Linked DNA regions of Homo sapiens: regions 1, 2, 3, 4, 5 and 7 are each linked to region 6. Evidence: promoter capture Hi-C in 16 types of primary human blood cells and fetal thymus (Javierre and others, 2016). All regions are on one chromosome and are shown on one strand. The core of a region is centred on a gene start or on the middle of the fragment in contact, and the rest is flanking DNA. Distances in the headings are between cores, read along the strand shown. Region 1 overlaps SETD4 (SET domain containing 4). Region 2 has its middle 140 kb from the start of MIR802. Region 3 holds the start of CHAF1B (chromatin assembly factor 1 subunit B). Region 4 has its middle 110 kb from the start of LINC01436. Region 5 holds the start of LINC01436 (long intergenic non-protein coding RNA 1436). Region 6 holds the start of LINC01426 (long intergenic non-protein coding RNA 1426). Region 7 has its middle 78 kb from the start of LINC01436.

The links. Contacts are between HindIII fragments. The CHiCAGO score rates a contact against its expected background, and 5 or more counts as called.
Region 1: a contact is called between a fragment that was not itself captured here and the fragment with the promoter of LINC01426 in region 6, in 2 of 17 cell types (neutrophils and total B cells). The highest score is 5.8, in neutrophils.
Region 2: a contact is called between a fragment that was not itself captured here and the fragment with the promoter of LINC01426 in region 6, in 9 of 17 cell types (naive B cells, monocytes, naive CD4 T cells and 6 more). The highest score is 9.2, in naive B cells.
Region 3: the fragment with the promoter of CHAF1B here is called in contact with the fragment with the promoter of LINC01426 in region 6 in 1 of 17 cell types (neutrophils); the score reaches 8.4 in neutrophils.
Region 4: a contact is called between a fragment that was not itself captured here and the fragment with the promoter of LINC01426 in region 6, in 1 of 17 cell types (total B cells). The highest score is 5.2, in total B cells.
Region 5: a fragment that was not itself captured here is called in contact with the fragment with the promoter of LINC01426 in region 6 in 5 of 17 cell types (neutrophils, total B cells, monocytes and 2 more); the score reaches 9.9 in neutrophils.
Region 7: a contact is called between a fragment that was not itself captured here and the fragment with the promoter of LINC01426 in region 6, in 2 of 17 cell types (neutrophils and monocytes). The highest score is 6.3, in neutrophils.

What each region holds. Positions count from the first base shown.
Region 1 is chr21:36,052,429-36,055,196 of GRCh38, reverse strand. SETD4 (SET domain containing 4) reads left to right here. Exons shown (of 12, transcript NM_017438.5): 4 at 1,577-1,614. Among named protein-coding and RNA genes, the nearest start is that of SETD4, 6.7 kb to the left of the region's middle. The HindIII fragment of the contact is 982 bases long and covers 873-1,854 here.
Region 2 is chr21:35,861,232-35,864,041 of GRCh38, reverse strand. No RefSeq gene overlaps it. Among named protein-coding and RNA genes, the nearest start is that of MIR802, 140 kb to the right of the region's middle. The HindIII fragment of the contact is 807 bases long and covers 865-1,671 here.
Region 3 is chr21:36,383,507-36,386,671 of GRCh38, reverse strand. It overlaps CHAF1B (chromatin assembly factor 1 subunit B), which reads right to left and starts at 1,280. Exons shown (of 14, transcript NM_005441.3): 1 at 1,221-1,280; 2 at 410-612. The coding sequence starts at 535. RefSeq lists enhancers at 1-327, 328-829 and silencers at 949-1,048, 1,079-1,448. The HindIII fragment of the contact is 16,320 bases long and covers 1-3,165 here.
Region 4 is chr21:35,892,908-35,895,961 of GRCh38, reverse strand. No RefSeq gene overlaps it. Among named protein-coding and RNA genes, the nearest start is that of LINC01436, 110 kb to the left of the region's middle. The HindIII fragment of the contact is 529 bases long and covers 1,099-1,627 here.
Region 5 is chr21:36,002,511-36,005,673 of GRCh38, reverse strand. It overlaps LINC01436 (long intergenic non-protein coding RNA 1436), which reads right to left and starts at 354. Exons shown (of 2, transcript NR_110419.1): 1 at 1-354. It overlaps LOC101928269 (a long non-coding RNA gene), which reads left to right and starts at 1,007. Exons shown (of 6, transcript NR_110418.1): 1 at 1,007-1,110. The HindIII fragment of the contact is 669 bases long and covers 1,046-1,714 here.
Region 6 is chr21:34,744,281-34,747,426 of GRCh38, reverse strand. It overlaps LINC01426 (long intergenic non-protein coding RNA 1426), which reads right to left and starts at 1,602. Exons shown (of 3, transcript NR_038885.1): 1 at 1,411-1,602. RefSeq lists enhancers at 221-515, 722-1,221, 1,222-1,723. The HindIII fragment of the contact is 11,220 bases long and covers 1-3,146 here.
Region 7 is chr21:35,925,811-35,928,595 of GRCh38, reverse strand. No RefSeq gene overlaps it. Among named protein-coding and RNA genes, the nearest start is that of LINC01436, 78 kb to the left of the region's middle. The HindIII fragment of the contact is 3,480 bases long and covers 1-2,785 here.

The DNA of each region.
Region 1 (2,768 bases), core at 114-2,613, 1.3 Mb before region 6:
ATTTCCACTTAGATTAGCACGTAAGTTTTTGGAAGGATAACCAGGTAGAAGAAAATCTTCCCATTAGTCATTGATTCTAGGAGGAGTTCTGGAGCACAGGGATGATTAACTCCACAATGGGGTACACAAAATCAATGAAATAAGTTAACACTAGAACCAGCTGTATAAGCAGACAGTGTCCTCCTGGGAGGGGAGATGAATTGGGACTCATCAAATCCAACTTGCTGGGAAACTGATGGAGGACTTGAGGCAGGAATTCCCACCATGAGCCAGGAGCATCAAATCCAACCTGCCAGGAAGCTGATGGAAGACTTGAGGCAGGAATTCCCACCATGAGCCAGGAGCATCAAATCCAACCTGCCAGGAAGCTGATGGAAGACTTGAGGCAGGAATTCCCACCATGAGCCAGGAGCATCAAATCCAACCTGCCAGGAAGCTGATGGAAGACTTGAGGCAGGAATTCCCACCATGAGCCGGGAGCATCAAATCCAACCTGCCAGGAAACCGATGGAGGACTTGAGGCAGGAATTCCCACCATGAGCCAGGAGCATCAAATCCAACCTGCCAGGAAACCGATGGAGGACTTGAGGCAGGAATTCCCACCATGAGCCGGGAGCATCAAATCCAAGTTGCGGGAAACTGATGGAGGACTTGAGGCAGTGAGCCACCGTGAGCTGGGAGCTCCCAGTAGTCCTGCACTGACTTGGCTGAATTATTTTCCCTCCCAGCTAAGAGAGGAAAGGTGAAGAACGATGAATTGGAGACGTTAATGCTCTAGGCCTCTTATGACCATGTAATACCTATGCCTGCCAGAAAAGCTGTCATCTGAGCATCCTTTCAATGTTTGTCTGACTGTTCCAGGAGCAGAAGCTTAGGCATGAAGGGAGAAACTTCTGGAAGTTGGTATTAATTTTTAAATAAAGGAATTTATTGAATTAATTGGTATTAATGCAGCTGCTGAGGTTACTATGGTGACTGTGCTCCAGCCGGAGCCTTGGCTCACAGGGAACAGCTGGAGCTGACCTACCCAGCTGAGCTCACCAGGTCATGGAGAGCCCATCTCATGGGTTACCTGATCAGAGAGGGGAGGATGTCTGCAGGCTTTGTGGGGACTTGAGTGGGGTTTATTGGCCAGTCGGCCAATCAAAGGGGTCTCAAGGTCTTCACTTGGGAGAGCTGAGTCTGGTAATGGGGATAAGTGGCCTGGGGCTCTAGCCTCAGAGGTTGGCTGGGCATTGGGAATAGCACCTTGTTAGCTGGTAGGCCCCAGTGGAGAGAGTCCAGCCCAAAGCGTCCTGCAGGAGGCCCAGCAGTAGGTCTGTATAAAGTCCACGGTGCTCTTTAGGTCTCACCTCTGAAGCTGACTGCCCTTCAAGGATTATAACTCACTGGAGGTCAAGACATTTTCTGGAATAGCTTTCTGACTCCCTGTTTCCCCTGGGAATCAAAGGCTGAGAGACATCCAGCTTCAGCCTTGTGTAATTTTGAAGTTCACATTTTTTTTTTCCATAATAGTTATCTCTGGGACCTTGAAGTTATGGTAGGATTTACTCTCTTTCTGTCTTTGCTTTCCTAGGTACAGGAAGAGGGCTGATGAGTCAAACATCCCTGCAGGTGAGAACTGTTCTTTGATCCTTGAAACCCAATGTAGATTTTGCTGCTTTGTTTTTGCGGTTCAAACGAAGTGAATTAAAAAAATTTCAGACATACAGTCATTTCTTACTTACCTAATAGATATATTTGAATATGGTTCTATCAACTAGGATTAAGTTTGTTGCAATAAAAGACAAGCCCAAAATTGAGGTGCTTAAGCAGCATGGAAATTTATTTTGTTCTCACTCATAGAAACAAGCTTGGAGTAGGCTGACCCTGGCTGGTGGGGCAGTCCCATGGCTGGCAGAGGCCCCAACTCCTTCCAGCTCTCTCATGTCCTTAAGGGAACTGCACCCTCAGGTCAGGTTGTGGGTCTTGGAACTTGGGCATCAGGAGAGAGCAAGCGGGTGAGGAAGGGCAGGCTTCCTTCCTTTAAGGAAATTCCAGTCCCTCTGTCCTTGGCCAGTGATCAGGTACACAGCCCTAGCCAGCTGCAAGGGAGGAGATCCGTGCTGGCCTTTCCCCAGCCACGTGCCCTCTAAGTAGGATTCCGTTAGCGAGGAGGGGGAGAGAAGGCGTGTTGGGATAGGCAACTAGCAATCTCTGCCACAGCACATGTTACATGTCAGATCACGTTTTCAGTATGCCAAGGGAGCTGCTGCTGTCTGTGAGGCAGTCGTGATGTGGCAGGTAGAAACCAGAGCTAGGGGAGGATGAGGCCTCAGACTTGGGCCAGAGTTGCCTTCAGCTGCCTGAGGCCCCAGCATGAGACCCCTCATACTCTTGGCTCCTGTTTCCTCACCTACAAAATGAGGAAGTAAATGACAGCCTCCAAGGTTTCTTTTCATTCTTCCAATGCTATTTTAAAGATCTCTAGCGCACGATTTTCTGTGAAGCCAGAAATTAATTTCTTCCTTTATTTAAAAATTATCTTATTTTAAATTCTCTATTTAAAACTTGCACTCAGATGTGTACATATGTTTAGGCTAAGGAATGGTATCTTTTTTTTTTCAGTAGATAAAACGTCCTTTTTTTTTTTTTTTTTTGAGACAGAGTCTTGCTCTGTTGCCCAGGCTGGAGTGCAGTGGCGCGATCTCGGCTCCTTGCAACCTCCGTCTCCTGGGTTCAAGCAATTCTTTTGCCTCAGCCTCCTGAAGTAGCTGAAATTACAGGCA
Region 2 (2,810 bases), core at 19-2,518, 1.1 Mb before region 6:
GTATTTACTAAGTTTTCAAGATAATGCTGTTGACTTTCAAAAGTTTATCAAGTAGGTTTGAAAAAATACCTTTATGAACTCATGGGTTTAAACTTATTTGATCAGTTTTAATCCATTGCAATTCTCATCTTTATGAGAGTTCAAATTGCCCCATCCTTGACCAGAGGGAGATCTTCAGGTTGAGCTACTTTGACCAGTGGCTGTTGAGTCTTTTTTTTTTTTTTTTTTTTTTTTGTTTGTTTGAGACAGGGGGTCTTGTTCTCTCACCCTGGCTGGAGTGCAGTGACGTGATTTTGGCTCACTGTAGCCTTGACCTCCTGGGCTCAAGCAATCCTCCTGCCTCAGCCTCCTGAGTAGGTGGGACTACAGTTGTGCGCCACCATGCCTGGTTAATTTTTTATTTTTTGTAGATCCAGGGTTTTCCCTTGTTGCTTAGGCTCATCCCCAACTTCTGGGCTCAAGTGATCTTCCTGCCTCAGCCTCCCAAAATGCTGGGATTATAGGCATGAGCCTAATTAATATGGGATATTAATTATCAATCTAGAAAGACATAAATGTATTGCTTGGAAAGAAGAAAGGATCCATTGACAAAGAAGAGATACAAAGATTTGATCTTGATTTATCTCAGGTAGATGTCAACTTCTGCCATATTTTCTTGATCATTAACTGAGACCTCATCCCTCTTCTTCCCCTACTTTTTTCCTTTAAAGCCAAATAAAAATAAACAGAACTAGTATTATTTTGCATTGAGTATCCCAAGTAGATTTAGAATGTTGGTTTCAAAGTAAATAAACAAGAGACGGATGCAATGGAATTTCATAACCATGATGGACTTTGGGGTGTAATAATTTTCTTAGGCAAGCTTATAAAAACAGTGTTTTCTCCCTGTAGTCTGTCCTTAGGGACTAATGTTCTAAAAAGAGAGAACAATTTTCCAGTAAAATTAACTCTGTGAAGATTTTATGGATTTTAAAGACATACCACTTTGTGTGTGTGTGTGCAAGGCTCTTATAGACAGGCTGCTGTGTAGCAGTGGGGACCTCCATGGTGAGTTATGTTCTTGTCCTTATGTCATGGGAGCAGGTAGACATAAATACTTTCATGCATGGAGCTTCTGGATCCTTTGTCTAAAATTCTGCCATCTTTTCTAATAGATTGCAAGTTCTCTTTAAAAGTGGAAACACCCCTTAAAGATATGAAGCAAATCTTCATCATTTGGAAGGCAGTATATAACTCACAAATGGGTTGTCTTCAAAGGTTGTTTATAAGGCACTGGCTTGAAACTGCATTTATCTATGGACCTATGATAGGTTCTTAAGGCAGCAGATTAACACTTACCAAGCCCACCATATTCATTTTGGTAGCACTGAAGCAATACTATAGACCCTAGCACCAGGCGTGACTGTGTTCTGGAGCAGTGGTTCTCAACCAGGCCATTGAAGGCAATTTCTTAAAAGCCCTGCCGGCCTGGGTACCTCACACCACTCCTGCACTAACCTACTTAGAGTGTGGCTCTTTGCAGCTTACTCCTGTGCTCAAGGTCATGAATGCTCCTTACTCTCAAACAGAGGCCCACTCTTCAGGTAGTGTTCAAGGCCATCAGCCACATGCTTCGTCGTTCCTGTGCCACCATGTGCTATTTCCCCATATGAACACATGCCATGTTAAGCTTTAGTTGAACATGCCCTACCCTCCTCGGTTTCTCACCTTGCTTGCTGTCCTTGGCACCAAGAATTTAGTTCCCATTTGTGGCTGCCTAATACATAACCTCTTCTTTGCTGGCTTATTTCATATGCCACCCCCTTTTCTGATTTTTCCCAACTAGAGCTCACTCTTTCCTTCTTGATATTTTCGCATCCCACTCTTACGTTATCTGTGTTATGGCACATAATACTGCCCTTACAGGGTAATGTTGGTGGGCTGTTGTCCAGCCCAGTGCATCCCTAGAGGGCAGGGTCTCTTGTTTTATCGACCTATGAGGATCAGTGCCTAGCAATGTGCTTGGGATATGGTGGCTGCATGACAAATTCTGGAGCTATTTCACTGCCTCTCTATTCCACAACCACTTGCATACATACTGAGAGCAGGAGGGCAGCATGTGTGGGTGCTGGTGGGAAGCCAGAGAGGGAAGCTATCTGTATTGCATTCAAACATTAATGTCCACAGAGAGCTCTAAGTGCTGTCTACCTTTGGCTTTGAGTCAGATGTAATAAAACAAAATCAGCCATTATGAGTAATGCTTTTCAACTTTTGTTGTAAGGCTCACAAAAGATGTTTGCTGTCCCTGACTGGTGTCAGATGCAATAAATATAATTAGTCTCTGGAAACACATAGATGAAATTACTTTAATCATGGCTTTCATTTGTTTCTAGCCCCTGAATCTCATGGGCATGGAGCAGACCACTGGCTTTTGCCTTCGGAGGCACCTCGAGCCCGTCTCCTGGGTTTGGCTTTAGGGATAGTGTCTCTTTCTGGGAATTTTAAACTTCAAAGTGGAAAACCCTGGGCTCTCCACATCCATCTCCTGGGGACTTACTGAAAGAAAGTTTATTTGCCCAGGAGAGGTGACCTTTCCTTTCATCTCTGACTATGTTTTCACATCTAATAAAGTCAAGATGGAACTTGGCACCTGTTTTCCTCAGGACAAATTCAATGAGGACACAGTCCTGGAAGTGAGTGGCACTGAGTTCTTTCCTTCATCTTCGTATCACCAAAGAACTGCTCTCCATAGAACACTATGGATCTGGAGCGACTATCAGGTACAAATCATCAACTTTAGGAGTTAGAGGCATCCTTAGAGTTCGTTCAGG
Region 3 (3,165 bases), core at 31-2,530, 1.6 Mb before region 6:
ATTTAGCATTCTGGGCTAGATGACAAAGTAGTTTAGTTTGTTGACATACGTTAATTCATTCATTCATTTACTTAAGAGAAGGGTCTGGCTCTGTCACCCAGGCTGGAGTGCAGTGGAGTGATCGTTGCTTGCTTCAAACTCCTAGGCTCAAGCGATCCTCTCACTTCAACTTCCCAAGTAGCTGGGCCTACAGCTGCACACTGCCACGTCCCGCTACTTTTTCATGTCTGGCTGTTGCCCAGGCTGGTGTCGAACTCCTGGACTCAAGCGATCCTCTCACCTCAGCCTCCCAAAGCACTGGGATTACAGGCGTAAGCCACCGCGCCCAGCCGACACTGGTTTTAAGTAAAAGAATGAAAACTATTGCTTCAAGCAGTGTTCCCGGATGTCTATCTCTGCCCCAGTTTACCCTGACATTGGTGTCCACGCCGGCAGACGCCAGTCTGTGGATCCTCCCAGCCGTCCCATGCTGGAAGTCCAGGCTGTACACGGGCTCCTTGTTGTGCCAGGCTATTTCACAAGTGATGACTTTCATCCTCCTGAGTCTCGAAGGGGAAAAACGTTTCTCGGGCACCGTTCTACTTCTTCAAGACAGGAGAAAGCTGCAAAATGCTGGTGATGGATTAAACAACAGTGTTAACAGCAGCAAAGGGTTATTGAGCGCTGAATAGGGGCCAGGAGCCATTTAAAATGCACACTGCATTGGGAAAGGATGTTAACGTTGCCATCTGACAATAACACCTTGCTAGCTCCACCTAAAATGCTTCGCTGGGTCCTGACATCCACAAGTTTATGATACGCCGCTACATCCAGAAAAGCAAAACGAAACACCCAGGTAAAGGCTACCTAGGGGCCCCGGCCGTCTGCACGGCCTGTCCCCGCTTAGTAGGGGCTAGGGGCGCGCCCTGAGAGCCCGGGGAGGGGCCCGCCCCGGGAGGAGCCTCCCGGAAGAGGGGGCCAAACGGGGTAGGGGACCGGGGCGGCGGGGCGAGAGGAGAACCCCGCCTTTCCCAGGGACCGGGCGCTGGGCCCGGGAAGCTGGGACTGAGGCCGCCGGGAGGAGGCCGCGCGGGGCCGGGGGTGGACGGGGCCCCGCCGCCCCAACGCGCGCCGCTCCGGAGCTATCCCGGGGCCCAGGGGCCCGCCCTCGGCGAGGGCCTCTGGCCCGGACCGACGCGACCAAAAGAGCCGCGGAGCTGCCCGGGCCAGGGAAGCCGTACCTGGAGGGACCCGGACAGTCAGAGGCACCGTCACCTCCCGCGCAGCGCGCGCCGCTTCCCGCGCGCCGCAGGCCCCGCCCCCGCATGGGCGGGACCTCATAGACGCCCCGCCCCTCCAGCGGCCCTCAGGTCCCGCCCGACGTGGGCGGTACCCCAGGGAAGCCCCGCCCACTCATAGACGCCAAGGCGAGTCCTGCTCTGGCCCTGGGGTCGGAATCCCGGCCGGAATTTATGCCTGCCAGACCCACGACCGAAGGAAGAATGGATTCATTATTATTTATTATTATTATCCATTACTTATTCCTTGTTGATTCGCTCTTTTAGCAAAGGTTTACAGAGCCTGGGCTGTGTGTTAGACAGACCCTATGCTGGCGCTGGGCACTTGGAGGGCTAACACAACCGGTTCTCTTGCCCCTTCTGCAAACAAAAACTGAGATTTTTGGGTTTTCTGTATTGGCTTCTAGAACATTTTGGAGAGTTCAAAGCTATGAAATTGTTCAGTACCTAGCGCAAGGTTGCTTACATTTTATTATTATAGTAGATGCAGTTATAAACCCTTTTTAAGAACAGACTAACATTTTAAAGTGAGGCTGTAAATCAGTCGGTAGGCAGAGATAGATACCTCAGGCTTTTCGAAATGGGACGTTTCCAAATGAGACCTAATTTATCTGTGGGCTTCGCAGAAGGCCAGGAAACAAGTACCTCTGGATGCGCTGCTTTTACTGGATAAAAGAAACACACAGGGTTATCTGAGGAGCCAACTGCTCTAGGATTTTTGGAAAAAAAGAACAGACATGGATTCTTATATAAATACCGGCTGATGCTTTTAGCCAGCTTTATGAAAGGTACAGAAATTGCCTACAAATCCGTGTCTCATGTTGATGAGAATGGCTGTATGCTCCTTGAAGCCTGATTTCTACAGGAAGCTAGAATAACATAATCCGGATATGCAGTTTTTAGATTTTTCTCTTCAGGATTTACAGAGCTTGGACTGGGAATGACTATATACTTTAGATAATATGGCTGTTCTAAAAGTACAGATTCCTGGCCCTACTCAGCCCCATGATTCCGAATATCCAGCAGAGGCCCGTGCTCCAGGGGCTTGCATTTTCATAAACTCCCCGGTGGGTGTGATCATCAGTCTGTTTTGGAAAGCTCTGGATTCTTCGTGTCTCTCAAACATAAAATTTCTCCAAATTTCTCATAAATGCTGTTCATTCACAAATGAATAATCTGCCCACCTCTTGAAGTGTCACGACTCTGAACTGTGGATTTAAAAGATAAAAACACATGCTTTAAGTATTAAAAGTACATGAAGGAGTTGGCTTTCTTGGCGAACATTTTAGAGATCCGACTTCAGTGCCAACTTGATGAGCCAACACGGGCAGGGGATGCGGCTCTAGAGAGAGGCCCTGGGCTGTCAAATATTTTCTCAAAAAAAAAAAAAAAAGTATTTGTTCAAAACCTCAAAGTTTGCACCACAAATGTTGGACTAAAGAATTCCTGCCGGTCGCGGTAGCTCACGCCTGTAATCCCAGCACTTTAGGAGGCCGAGGTGGGCGGATCATGAGGTCAGGAGATCGAGGCCATCCTGGCTAACATGGTGAAACCCCATCTCTACAAAAATTACAAAAAATTAGTCGGGCGTGGCGGCGGGCGCCTGTAGTCCCAGCTACTCGGGAGGCTGAGGCAAGACAATGGCGTGAACCCGGGAAGCGGGGCTTGCAGTGAGCCGAGATCGTGCCACTGCACTCCAGCCTGGGCGAGAGAGCGAGACTCTGTCTCAAAAAAAAAAAAAAAAAAAAAAAAGGGAATTCCTATAACGCAATTCTAACTAGATTCCTCAACAACCACTGTTGTTCAGCTTGGGCCCCAAGCATCCATTTTGAGCAGAACTGCCTCAATTTAAGGGGACCAATGTTATTTGGTTCCTGAGAACTTTTTA
Region 4 (3,054 bases), core at 114-2,613, 1.1 Mb before region 6:
CATCTACCCGGGACCCTAGGGGCCAACGGAACAGAATTGGAAAACTACTGGTATGGTGGCTTAGTGGACTGGGAAGTAGTTATTTTAGTTTGTTAAGGCTGCCTAAACAAAATACCAAAACCAGAGTGGCTAAACCACAGAAATGTATTAGCTCAGACTTCTGGAGGCCAGCAGTCTGAGATCAAGGTGTCTGCAGGACCAGGTCCCCTGTGAAGGTGCCAGGGGAAGATCCACTCCAGACCTCTCTTCTACCTGCTGGAATTCCTTGACTGTGGCAGTGTAACTCCAGTCTTCACAGGGTGTCCTCCCTGTGTGCATGTCTCTGTGTCCAAATTTCCCCTTTTGATAAAGACACCAGGCATATTGGATTAGAGCCCTTCCTGAGCACCTCCTTTTATTTATTTGTTATTTTTTTATTTCCATAGGTTTTTGGGGAAATGGTGGTATGTAGTTTCAAGAGTAAGTTCTTTGGGGGTGACTTGTGAGATTTTGGTGAGCCCATCACCTGAGCAGTATACACTGAACTAAATTTGTAGTCCTTTATCCCTCAACCCCCTCCCACCCTTTCCCCCAGGGGAATGGAAAACCAAACATCGCATGTTCTCATTCATAAGTGGGAACTAAGCTATGAGAATGCAAAGGCATGAGAATGATACGAAGGACCTCCTTTTCACTTGATGACCTCTGTAAAGATCCTACTAAGTAAGGCCATTTGGAGCTTCTGGGGGTAGGACTCCAACATATCTTATTCTGGAACATACAATTCAACCCATAACCATAGCCAAGCATGGATTTGTGTTCTGTTCTGTCTCTCATTGACCGCATGGCCTAATTTTGACACTTAGCTTCTGTTCTATAACTAAAAAATGATAGAATTGGATCATGCCATCTGTGAGATTTTCTCTCTCAAATCCTATGGCTTTCCAAACACATTTACTGTTCCTGGCCCCCCATTAGTAGGATCCAGCTCTAATTTGCTTTCATGCCCACTTTATGTATAAGGGGAGCTGTTGAAAGTTGGCTAGTTAATAGCAGTAGCTACTTTTTTTTTTTTTTTTTTAAGGCAACTACTATATGTCAGGCATTCTGTTAGAAGCTTGACATGTTTAATTTAACGCTGAAAAATAGTCCTGCAAAATATCCCATTAGATATATTCTGTGTGATAGCTGAGGCATCCAAGAAGCAGAGAGGTCACCTAATTTGTTAAAATTCATACTATGAGCAAATAGAAGAACTGGGATTTGAATTCATATCTTTACAATTCCAAAGCCGGTGCCCTTCACTTGTTCTTAGCCAAAAGCTGAGAAGTGATAGCTAGTCCTCTTTATACTCTTTATACTCTCCTACTCGAAGGCATTGAGTAGGATGTCAGGTCATAACTGGTAGATGACCATCTTCTTAGTGAAGGTGATTATTCACCAGACAGGTGGAACCCATGGGTCTAACCCCTTTGGCACTAGGTTATAATGATAGCTGCCAATCTCTGTTCTGCAGTCCCATTTATTCACCTGAAACCTTCATTTTTCAGCACCTTTAAGTCTCAGGTTAAGCTGGTGAAACCTGATTCTGAAGAGAGATCAGAGAAGAAGGAATCTCTGAGCTGCCCGTTGGAGGAACCCACAAGCTTTCAGTGTGTCTGCAATTTTTTTTTTTTTTTTTGAGACGGAGTCTTGCTCTGTTGCCCGGCTGGAGTACAGTGGCATGATCTTGGCTCACTGCAATCTCTGTCTCCCAGGTTCAAGTGATTCCCCTGCCTCAGCCTCCAAGTAGCTGGGATTACAGGCGTGTGCCACCACACTCAACTAATTTTTTGTGTTTTAGTAGAGACGAGGTTTCCCCATTTTGGCCAGGATGGTCTCGATTTCCTGACCTTGTGATCCACCCACATCAGCCTCCCAAAGTGTTGGGATGACAGGCGTGAGCCACCGTGCCACCAGGCCACAATTTTTACATCCTAGAAAAAGTTTGAAGTTGTAGACTGTGGTTAAGATCTTACAACTCATGGGGCTTAAAAGAGGTTCACACTAGTATTGATGACCTTATTTTTCTAGCTGCTTTGGGACATTGGCCCTCAGAAACCTTTCTCCTAAATGGTTCCAGGGCTTAGTTACCGTGTGGCAGCTGCCATTTTATTTCCTTGATGCCTGGGAAGGTGCCAGCAGAGACTCCTCCGTTGTCATCCAGGTCTACCTGAGACCATCTGCCACCCCTGGGGTGAGCGACACCTGCCCTCCAGGCCACTCTGCTGCTGCCCTGGGCGCCATCTCCTCTGCTTGTGCTGATGATACTTGGAGCCCTTAGGAGCCACAGCTGTGTAGTTTTTTGTGGAGCAAATTCCTCTTTTCACCTGGTGTGTACTTCATGAAAGGTCACTGAAGCAGAGCCACCCCTTCCTCAGTGCCTTGGATATTGTTAGTGAAAACAACCTCCCTTTTCAGTTGCGGTCTCTACATATTGCAGATTGGGCTGGGCCGGGCTCAGGAAACCAACCAAGCACCAACGTCTTCCCAGAGTCACTTCTTCACTGATGACAGTGGGTTGCTTCTTGGGCTATTATCTTCCAGGAAGTTCTGGTTGCTCATTAACATAGATCCTGGTGACACAGCACCTCTAATTATGATGAAAGCACCTCATACTTTAGTCACAATCCAAGGATAGCAAAAAAGATACCATTAATTGTTTTCCATGCAGAGGAAGAGGTGGGGCCACACCTGTTGGGAATGTTACTAGTGATCATATATTGCAATTGATGTTGTAGCTGATTACCAGACCCTCCTACCTCTATTGAATCATGCTTATCTTCTTGTGCAAAATACCATTACCTGTATATGTGGCAATGGAAAACTTTGGAGCAGGAGATATGAATAAGGAGCTGCTAATCAGATCAGCTAGGAGGAGAAATCCTGGATAAGAAGGCCCTGTTCCACTGTAAACAGAATCACCATTTACCTGGAACCTCTGTATATGTTTACTCAAGGCCTTAGCTCATAATTTGGGTCCCAGTTCCATTCTTTACAACTCTTATAAGTTTGCTTGTCTTCTTCCTCTTGCCT
Region 5 (3,163 bases), core at 131-2,630, 1.3 Mb before region 6:
ATGCCAAGTGGAGAAGAAAAGCTGGACATTCTTTCTCAGGTCACCAGCCCAGCCTGAAAGACTAGCTCTTCCTGCAACATCTTTCTCTTGAGTGCATGAAGGAGAATCTCACGTTGGTCTATCTCCTTGCATTCTTTCTGTATTCCTTATGTTTCCACTAGGCAGAGGGATGTCTCCAAGATCAGAGCAAAGAAAAACTCTGCCAAAGAGAAAAGCACGTTAATGCTTTCTGCAAGGCTCTTGGATTGGTCGGAACCCTGAGAGCGCGCCAACAAGCAAAACAAGGCGGTGTGGAGCAACACACTGTTTCAGTGAGCGCCTGGGTGCAGATGGGCTGAGGCCTAAAATGGCGTCAGCCCCAAATGAGCACGGGGCAGGAATTTTATAGTCTCCTGTAAACAGGAAGTGTCTCAGTCTGATGTAACTGCTACGCGGTAGACAGACGGCCTCTCTCTGGGTCTTCAAGGGGTGCATGTCTTCCCGCCAGCTCTCCTCCTGCTTCTGCTGTCTTGCTGACGCACGCTGCGCCTTGGGACTGGGCCTGAGAAGAGAGGAGGAGTTATTCACATACCACCAACGGACCCACCCCCCCCGCACCCCTTCCCCCGGCCCCCCCGACTCCCCCCTCCCCCTGCCTCTCCCTCCCCCCTTTCCCCTGCCCCCCCTGCCTCCCCCTCCTCCCTTCCCCTGCCTCCCCCTGTCTCCCCCTCCCCCCTTTCCCCTGCTTCCCCCTGCCTCCCCTCCCCCCTTTCCCCTGCCTCCCCCTGCCTCCCCCTCCCCCCCTTTCTCCTGCCTCCCCCTGCCTCCCCCCCGCCTCCCCCCGCCTCCTCCCCCCCGCCTCCCCCCGCCTCCTCCCCCCCCCGCCTGCCCCCCGCCTCTTCCCCCCCCGCCTCCTCCCCCCCCACCTCCTCCCCCACTGCTGCCTCCCCCACTGCCTCCCCCGTCCCCCTCCCGCCCCCACCACCGGCACCAGCTTCCAAGCTCTGGGTAAAGTCTTTCACTTTCTAAACTGCTGCCCTTCTAGTGCTGATGCTGGACTGAAGCTTCCTGCAGGCTGGGATCCTGTCTGCATATCTCGCAATGTGTTCCCAGGACCAGGCGTAGTTTCTGGTAAAAACTCAAGGAATATTTGTTGAATGAGTTAATGAATGAATAATGATGATAATTCATACCAGAGTTGCCTATAAATAAGCGTACGGTGAACCCCGTGAACAAGTCATTTTCACTTGGAAATTGGACGTCAATATAATATTTTATACTGCTCACTGTAAATATTCCTTACTGAGGTAAAATGCCATCAGATTACCAGTAAGAGAATGTAGTTAATGTTCCTATATTTTGCTTTTTTGGGTCAATCATTTGGTAACAGCAATTAGAAAAGAAATTGGAGAGTACAGGGCCTGTCTGTGGAAGTTCTTCAGAACCTCAGTGCCATTGTCAAGAGAAAATGACCTGAGTTTTTCGCACTTTAGAGGGGGTGTTAACAATGAGTGCTTTCCCGATTCGATGCCATCACCAGCCATATTTGTGTTGAATCAGGTGCCTTATGGTAAAATATGTCATAAGTATACAAATATTTTTCCAAAAAAGTCTGTACTATGCGCTATTTCTTTTTGTGTTTCACTCACAACTATGTCTTCTTTTCTATCATCACACTTGGCTAATGATTGTTAGTAGATATTAGTCACCATAACTCTCCAGCACAGGAGAAGCTTAAAGAGAAAACTTCCTGGCGCACGCCTGTAATCTCAGCACTTTGGGAGGCCGAGAGGGCACATCACCTGAGGTCGGCAGTTCGAGACCAGCCTGACCAACATGGAGAAACCTAGTCTCTACTGAAAATACAAAATTAGCCAGCCGTGGGGGCGCATGCCTGTAATCCCAGCTACTCGGGAGGCTGAGGCAGGAGAATCGCTTGAACCTGGGAGGTGGAGGCTGCAGTGAGCCAAGATCGCACCATTGCACTCCAGCCTGGGCAATAAGAGCAAGACTCCGTCTCAAAAAACAACAAACAAAAAAACAAAAAGAGACAAGTTCCATGGGAGGTGGCACGCATTGGATGAAAGTGTAGTTATATAAAGAAATATGACTTAAAAGAAAGTAATCCAATGCTGGAAGCAAGGAGAAAATAATAAAGGATAAAAAGATAAATGGGAAATCTGAGCTAATGGTATTGGTTAGGCTAAGAAGGCATCTGCATGTTTTCACCTTGATGGTGTCAGTTGTGGAGTGCCTGGTAGAAGTGTTGTGAGCTGCCAGAAAGGCTGTGCACTATACTCTTCAGAAAAATCTATCAGTAGGGATGAGTTCAGTCTGTCGTGGGCATGTGGTTTAACACAATTTAGGACAATTTAGTTCCAGGACCTTACCTCTCCCTTAAATGATCATATGTTATAGACTGCCTCTTGGCCCATTTGCAAAAGAGGTATTTTACGTTAGCTCATTTGCAAAAGAGGTATTTGTCAATCCTCATGGAGTTTTATAGTCGTGTACCTTGACGAAGGAAAATATTAAGAACCATAGGCCAATGGCGATTTAGTGCCAGAAACCAGAAATCTCCATCAGCTAGTCACTTTTGATGATTTACACAGATTTTACACATGTTGGATTAAGTGCCTTCTGAATTATGTCTCACTGTTTATAAAACAGTAATTGCTTTTAAGTTTAGCAGCAGCAGATTTTTGGATCATAAGGATATTGAGTGAAAAGCTCTCATACCTTATTTATTAAATGCTGTATCCACATTTTTTTTCTCCCATCAGAAGCTAAATACAAGTGGTTTCTAAGACGTGTATTTTGACATACTTTATCATTTGGATATAAAATGAATGTCCAAGCGTTTCTGATTGAATGGAAGTCCCTTTCAATTATATAAAAAAGTAAAGACTAGAAATAGTATCATCTTCTCCCATGCATATGGGATTTTATTATATATATAGTTGATTTATTTTAGAGGTATGGTTTAACCCGTGGTATTTGTACATTGATATATTATGGATCAAGTTGTAACAGAGTAATACCTTAAACCCCTCCACCATTCTACAGAGTTTTATTTTATTTTATTTTATTTTATTTTATTTTATTTATTTTTTTTGAGACGGAGTCTCGCTCTGTCGCCCAGGCTGGAGTGCAGTGGCCTAATCTCGGCTCACTGCAAGCTCCG
Region 6 (3,146 bases), core at 353-2,852:
TTTGAGACAGAGTTTCACTCTTGTTGCCCAGGCTGGAGTGCAGTGGCACAATCTTAGCTCACTGCAACCTCTGCCTCCTGGGTTCAAGGAATTATCCTGCCTCAGCCTCCCAAGTAGCTGGGATTACAGGTATCCACCACCATGCCCGGCAATTTTTTTTTTTTTTAAGTAGAGACAGAGTTTCACCATGTTGGCCAGGCTGGCCTTGAACTCCTGACCTCAGGTGATCCACTCGCCTCGGCCTCCCAAAGTGCTGGGATCACAGGCGTGAGCCACCGTGCCCGACCAAGGTTCATTTTCAATGCTGTTGACACGAAGGCTAAGATCACAGGGGAGGTCACAATTTTAGGATCTCAGCTTTTAGAATGCTGTCTTTTTAACCCCTTCAGCATTTCCATCTTATTGGAAAAGGGCAGGCAGGAGGGCAGATGGGAGGGAGGGAGGCAGTTGGGCTTTCTTCCTGTCCAGGGGCCAGCTCTGCCTTCCTGGTCCTCACTCCCAGCCCCACTCCTTCCTTCCCCTGTTCTGTGCCTCTCCTATCTACTCCTTCCACATCCCTAGCCACCTCACAGGCTCTTCATGGGGCTCAAGTGAGATAATGCAGGGTGTGAAATTCTTTGTCAATGAACGCATCAACTCTACGTTCCATTTGCTGTCATTATCTCCTGTATCTTTGTTCCACTTGTGCAGGTGATTTGTCCCCCCGCCAGTCCCCGTCCCCTCACCCCCAGTTTCATGGATAAGGACCAGCTGTAGACTCTGCCAGGCCCTGGGCAGTGTTGGTATCGTGCTTGGAGGTGCTGCTCAGTTATGCAACCCACCCTCCTCCCCCAGCCAGAGCCACAAAGCCACTAGGGCACTGTACCAGTTTGTTTATTTATTTATTTTTGAGATGGAGTCTCCCTCTGTCACCCAGGCTGGAGTACAGTGGCACGACCTTGGCTCACCACAACATCCGCCTCCCAGGTTCAAGCGATTCTCCTGCCTCAGCCTCCCGAGTAGCTGGGATTACAGGCGCATGATGTCACGCCTGGCTAATTTTTGTATTTTCAGTAGAGTCGGGGTTTTACCATGTTGGTCAGGCTGGTCTCAAACTCCTGACCTCAGGTGATCCACCTGCCTTGGCCTCCCAAAGTGCTGGGATTACAGGTGTGAGCCTCTGCTCCCAGCCCCACCGTGTTTAGCTTGGTTAGGCACAGAGCCTTGCATGAACCAGCACCTCGGGGACCCCATGACGAGGTCAGAGCGGGTGAGAGGCACGCACCAGTGTGACTGAGCCACTCGCTGGGACTCTGGGGGCAGCGTGGTGGGGCTTGAGATCAAGGAAGTGCCTGCAAGTGGATTCAACGATGAGACACTTCCCCGGCCCACAGGGTGGAGGGGTTGGCTGGAGGGGTTGCCTGTACTTACCAGAGACGGTCCCCGAGCGAGCTTGATAAGCTGAAAGAGACGCTCAGGAGAGCCCTGACAGAGCTCCCCAGGCTGGAAAGGACAGAACTCCCCACCGGAACTTTCATTTTCAAAGTTCAGCACCTCAGTTAAGTAATTAATAGGTCTGGTCACGTTCACAGCTCTCCAAAAGAGACTGATGGAGCTCTGCTTTTCCTCCGGAAGTGCTTTCATGGCAAGCCCAGAGAAGCCCCCTAGGAGGCAGCCTGTCATCCAATAATCACTTCCTCTCTCAGGCCCAAATTCCAAATCAGCTCAGCAATGGGCAGGGCGGCCCTGAGCCACGTCCAGAGGTTGGGATTTGCTGACTCCTGGAGGATATTCTGAGTATAGCAAGTAAGTGAACTCGCACAAACAATGCGTTCAGCAATGGGAAGAAAACAGCTGTTTTTGTCCGAGAAGTGTCTGGCATACCCAAGACTTCTTAAAGAGAGGAAAATATTAACCTAGAGCATAACAACCCCTTTCTCTTTTCAGTCAAAACCTAGACAGACTGTGTTGATATTAAGTTAACAAGTTCCATGGGCTAATACCTTCCGAATGAAATGAGAGGGTTCTTAAATTAATAGATGAAAACTCCCCTTCATACATCAGAGAACTAAGGAAAGGTAATTGCCCCCAATATTTATTTTCGATTTGGAAAATCCAAAGCAAGAAGGCTTTGAAGAAGTCAAGATCTGATTATAATTCTAGGCTCGGTGCCAATGGGATAAATTATCTGGCAACTTTTTTTGCACAGTTATTGATTCTATTTGTCTCTGACGCCAAGCGCCCAGCATGGCACAAAGCCTCACAAAGTGCTCCGAAAAGGGTGTCATCCCCACACCGTTGATAAGGCTCAGAGTCTCTCCACGGCCATAATGCAACCCCCTCCTCCCCAGGGGGCTGTTGGCACCTCAACCCACTAAGGGATCAGGAAGTAGAGTTTGCCAGTGAGGAGCCTGGAGACTTCAAGCCTGTTTGGCCTTGGTGTTCTTGTGATTTAGTGCCCTGGACTGGCAGGTCTAGGGACTTTTTGCTCTAGACAAACTTTTTAAATAGGCCAGGTGCAGTGGCTCAAACCTGTAATCCCAGTGCTCTGGGAGGCTGAGGTGGGAGGGTTGCTTGATCCCAGGAGTTTGAGGCTGCAGTCAGCCATAATCACACCACTGCAGCCCAGCCTGGGAGACAGAAGAAGACCTTGTTTCAAAAAAAATTTTTTTAATAAATATAAATTTAAAAAATAAAAAATCCCAACACATGCACACACATACATGCACACACATACATGCACACACACACATGCACACACATACATATATATGCATGTGCAAAAGGTATGCCCAAGCTATACTCTCTTTATTTGAGTTTTAATTTACAGAAGTTTTCAACCTGGCCAGGCCTGGAATCATGGAGAATGGGCTGGGAATGGGTCTGCAGAGGTTCCCAAGGACATGTTTGAAAAGCATCCTCCACCTGGGAGAGCTGGGTCAGAATTAGCACACTCTAGGAGAGTTGGGGAACAGCTAAGAGCGGGGCACACCAGCTCGACTAACTGAGCCTGAGCCAGTGGGAAAGTCCTCATAGCAGTGGTCACTGGAGCACGAAACAGGGACATGGCTGGCTGGGGCTCCTTCCTCCGCCCCTCCCCAAGCACAGGTGGGCATGCCGTGGTGGGGCTGGGAAAAGGCCTATGGCCAGGGAAGCGCAGGATGACA
Region 7 (2,785 bases), core at 43-2,542, 1.2 Mb before region 6:
ATCTTTTTTTTTTTTTTTTTTTCCTGAGATGGAGTCTTGCTATGTTGCCAGGCTGGAGTGCAGTGGCACAAATCTCAGTTCACTGCAACCTCTGCCTCCTGGATTCAAGGGATTCCCCTGCCTCAGCTTCCTGAGTGGCTGGGACTACAGGTGCATGCTACCATGCCCAGCGAATTTTTGTATTTTTAGTAGAGACAGGGTTTCACAATGTTGGCCAGGATGGTCTCTATCTCTTGACCTCGTGATCCACCCGCCTCGGCCTCCCATAGTGCTGGGATTACAGGTGTGAACCACCACACCCAGCTGAATGAATCTTTTATTGCAGCCAAAATTTCACCTCTTTAAATCCACCTCTGTGAAAGTATAATCCAACATATACATACAATTCCAAAGTTTTGTGGATGCTAATGGGCTTTATATTGAAAATGTTCATGTTAATATTTACTCAGAGGAATTATCCAACTGGCATGTTGTACTGGGAAAATAAGACTGAAACTGTCATACATATTATCCCATTGCCATACCAATCACGTCTTCCTACAATAACCAACAAGGATCAAAGGTAAACAGAAAAGTAGTGAGGAAATGAGAAGGAACGTAGCTTAAATCTCATGTAGCTCCCATTGCAGATAAGAACCCAGATGGTCTCTTTTCTGGGCAAGTATAATCCCAAAGGCAACCCCAGCCCCAAAAATACTTTGGGGAGAGAGGAACTGGTACAAGGGTAGACCTACACCTCTCTTTGGGCTTCTTAATGGTCAAAGCAAGTCAAGGACTTAATGGTCTCAAGGAGTGGACATATAAGCGCTTTGTTCCACTGTGTGGCCCAGAAATGAAAGCCATTAATAAGAAAAAAGCCTGTTGGTCATAGTGGCATTGTATAAACAGGACTGGATAATTTTCTTTTATGAATTCATTCCTATCTCTTCACATGGGCCTGAGAAGTGTGTCTGGAAGGCATTTTCCTTTTTGGTTGGAGGTGACTTAACAGACTGGCAATTACTGTCATTATGAGCCCAGTCACATAGCTGGAAGATCTAGGCGGCTGCTGATTCCTGAGCAGCAATGGGACAAGTGGGAGCAGCTGAGACCACACTGACAGGCCAGGGAACTGTAGACGAGTAATCTGCCAGGGGAAAAGGCCCCTTTGATCTTCACACCAGACGATAATTGCAGCAGATGTAGAGTCGATGTGGTATTTTTTTTTTTTATTGCAGTGGGACGGGCATTACCGATCTGTATGCGTAAGTGTTGCCAAGAGAAAGGAAGGATGATGGTTAGCTTACCTGCATCTTAAGCCATGCAGTGAAAAAGGTTCAGGGTTTTCTTAACCAGAAATGGTCTGAATGTTTAATAAAGGTAAACATTTATTATTTAGTGTTTTATATCATGTGGCAATTTTAGCTGATGTGGGATCTGACTCTTGCCAACCAATTTGAGTCTGTTAATGGCTGTTTGTTGTATTTTTTATTTTCTGTTTTCACAGAGACCATATTGCCCAGGCTGGAGTAGAGTGGTGCAATCATTGAATCACTGATCACTGTAGCCTCAGACTCCTGGGCTCAAGTGATCCTCCCACCTCAGCCTTCCCAGTAGCTAGGACTACAGGCAAGCACCACTATGCCCAGCTAATTAATTTTTTTTTTTTTTTTGTAGAGATGGGGTCTCACTATGCTGCCGAGGCTGGTCTCAAACTACTAGGCTCAAGCTATCCTCCTGCCTTAGATTCCCAAAATGCTGGGATTACAGGTGCGGACCACCTTGCCTGGCCTGTTTTCTTTTTGATACTTGGGGTGGACCAAAAAAAATCAATCATTTTCATTAAATTCAGTTGTGTGCTTGCCTTCAGATTTCCCTGGAAGCATCCACTGTCAGCCTCGAGGGAATTAATAGACCTACACCCTTGGGATAGATCAATGTGCCCTGAAAAATGTGTCTGGTTTGTTGTAATGCCACACTGGAAATAACAGAAAGGCTGTTTATATAGACAGTGGTCCAAGGAAGAAAGTGGGTCTGGATGAATGGCATCTGCTTATGTCCTGGTCTTGGTTACAAGACAGGCATCTCATCATTCCAGCCATTCTGCCTGCAGTCAGGATCTGTGGAGGACCCAGTGCCTTCAGAAAAGGTTAACAGAAGCTGCAAGAGGGCTCATCCATGAGTCTTCTCCGTTAAGCACATAATTCAGCTCATTAGACTTCAGGTTTCAGAATCGTGGTCTTTTTGTGATCTAAATAAGTTATGGTCTCTCTAATTGGACAGGATGTAGGGTGTTTTTGACAGCCACTGTTATTTTGCTCTTAAATACATACCAACAGGCTATTAATAAATAAATAAATTTAATATTAATTAATAATTAAAAATCATTAATAATTAATAAATAAATTATTTATTAATAATTAATAAATTATTAATAATTAATAAACAAATCACTTATTAATAAATTATTTATTATAATTAATAAACAAGTTATTTATTAATAGATTATTTATTATAATTAATAAATAGATTATTTATTATAATTAATAAATAGATTATTTATTATAATTAATAAATAGATTATTTATTATAATTAATAAATAGATTATTTATTAATAATAAATAATCTATTTATTATATATAAGAATGAATTAACAAAAATTCTCTGTGGCCATTGGTTTCCTGGTAGAACTCCCTCTTTTTCTTGTATCTACAGGAAATGTCTTTCTAGCTTGTGTGTATGTCTGCCAGGCTTGCCAGTTCGAAGTCGGCCATGGGAGGGGTTGTGTTCAGAAGCACACACCAT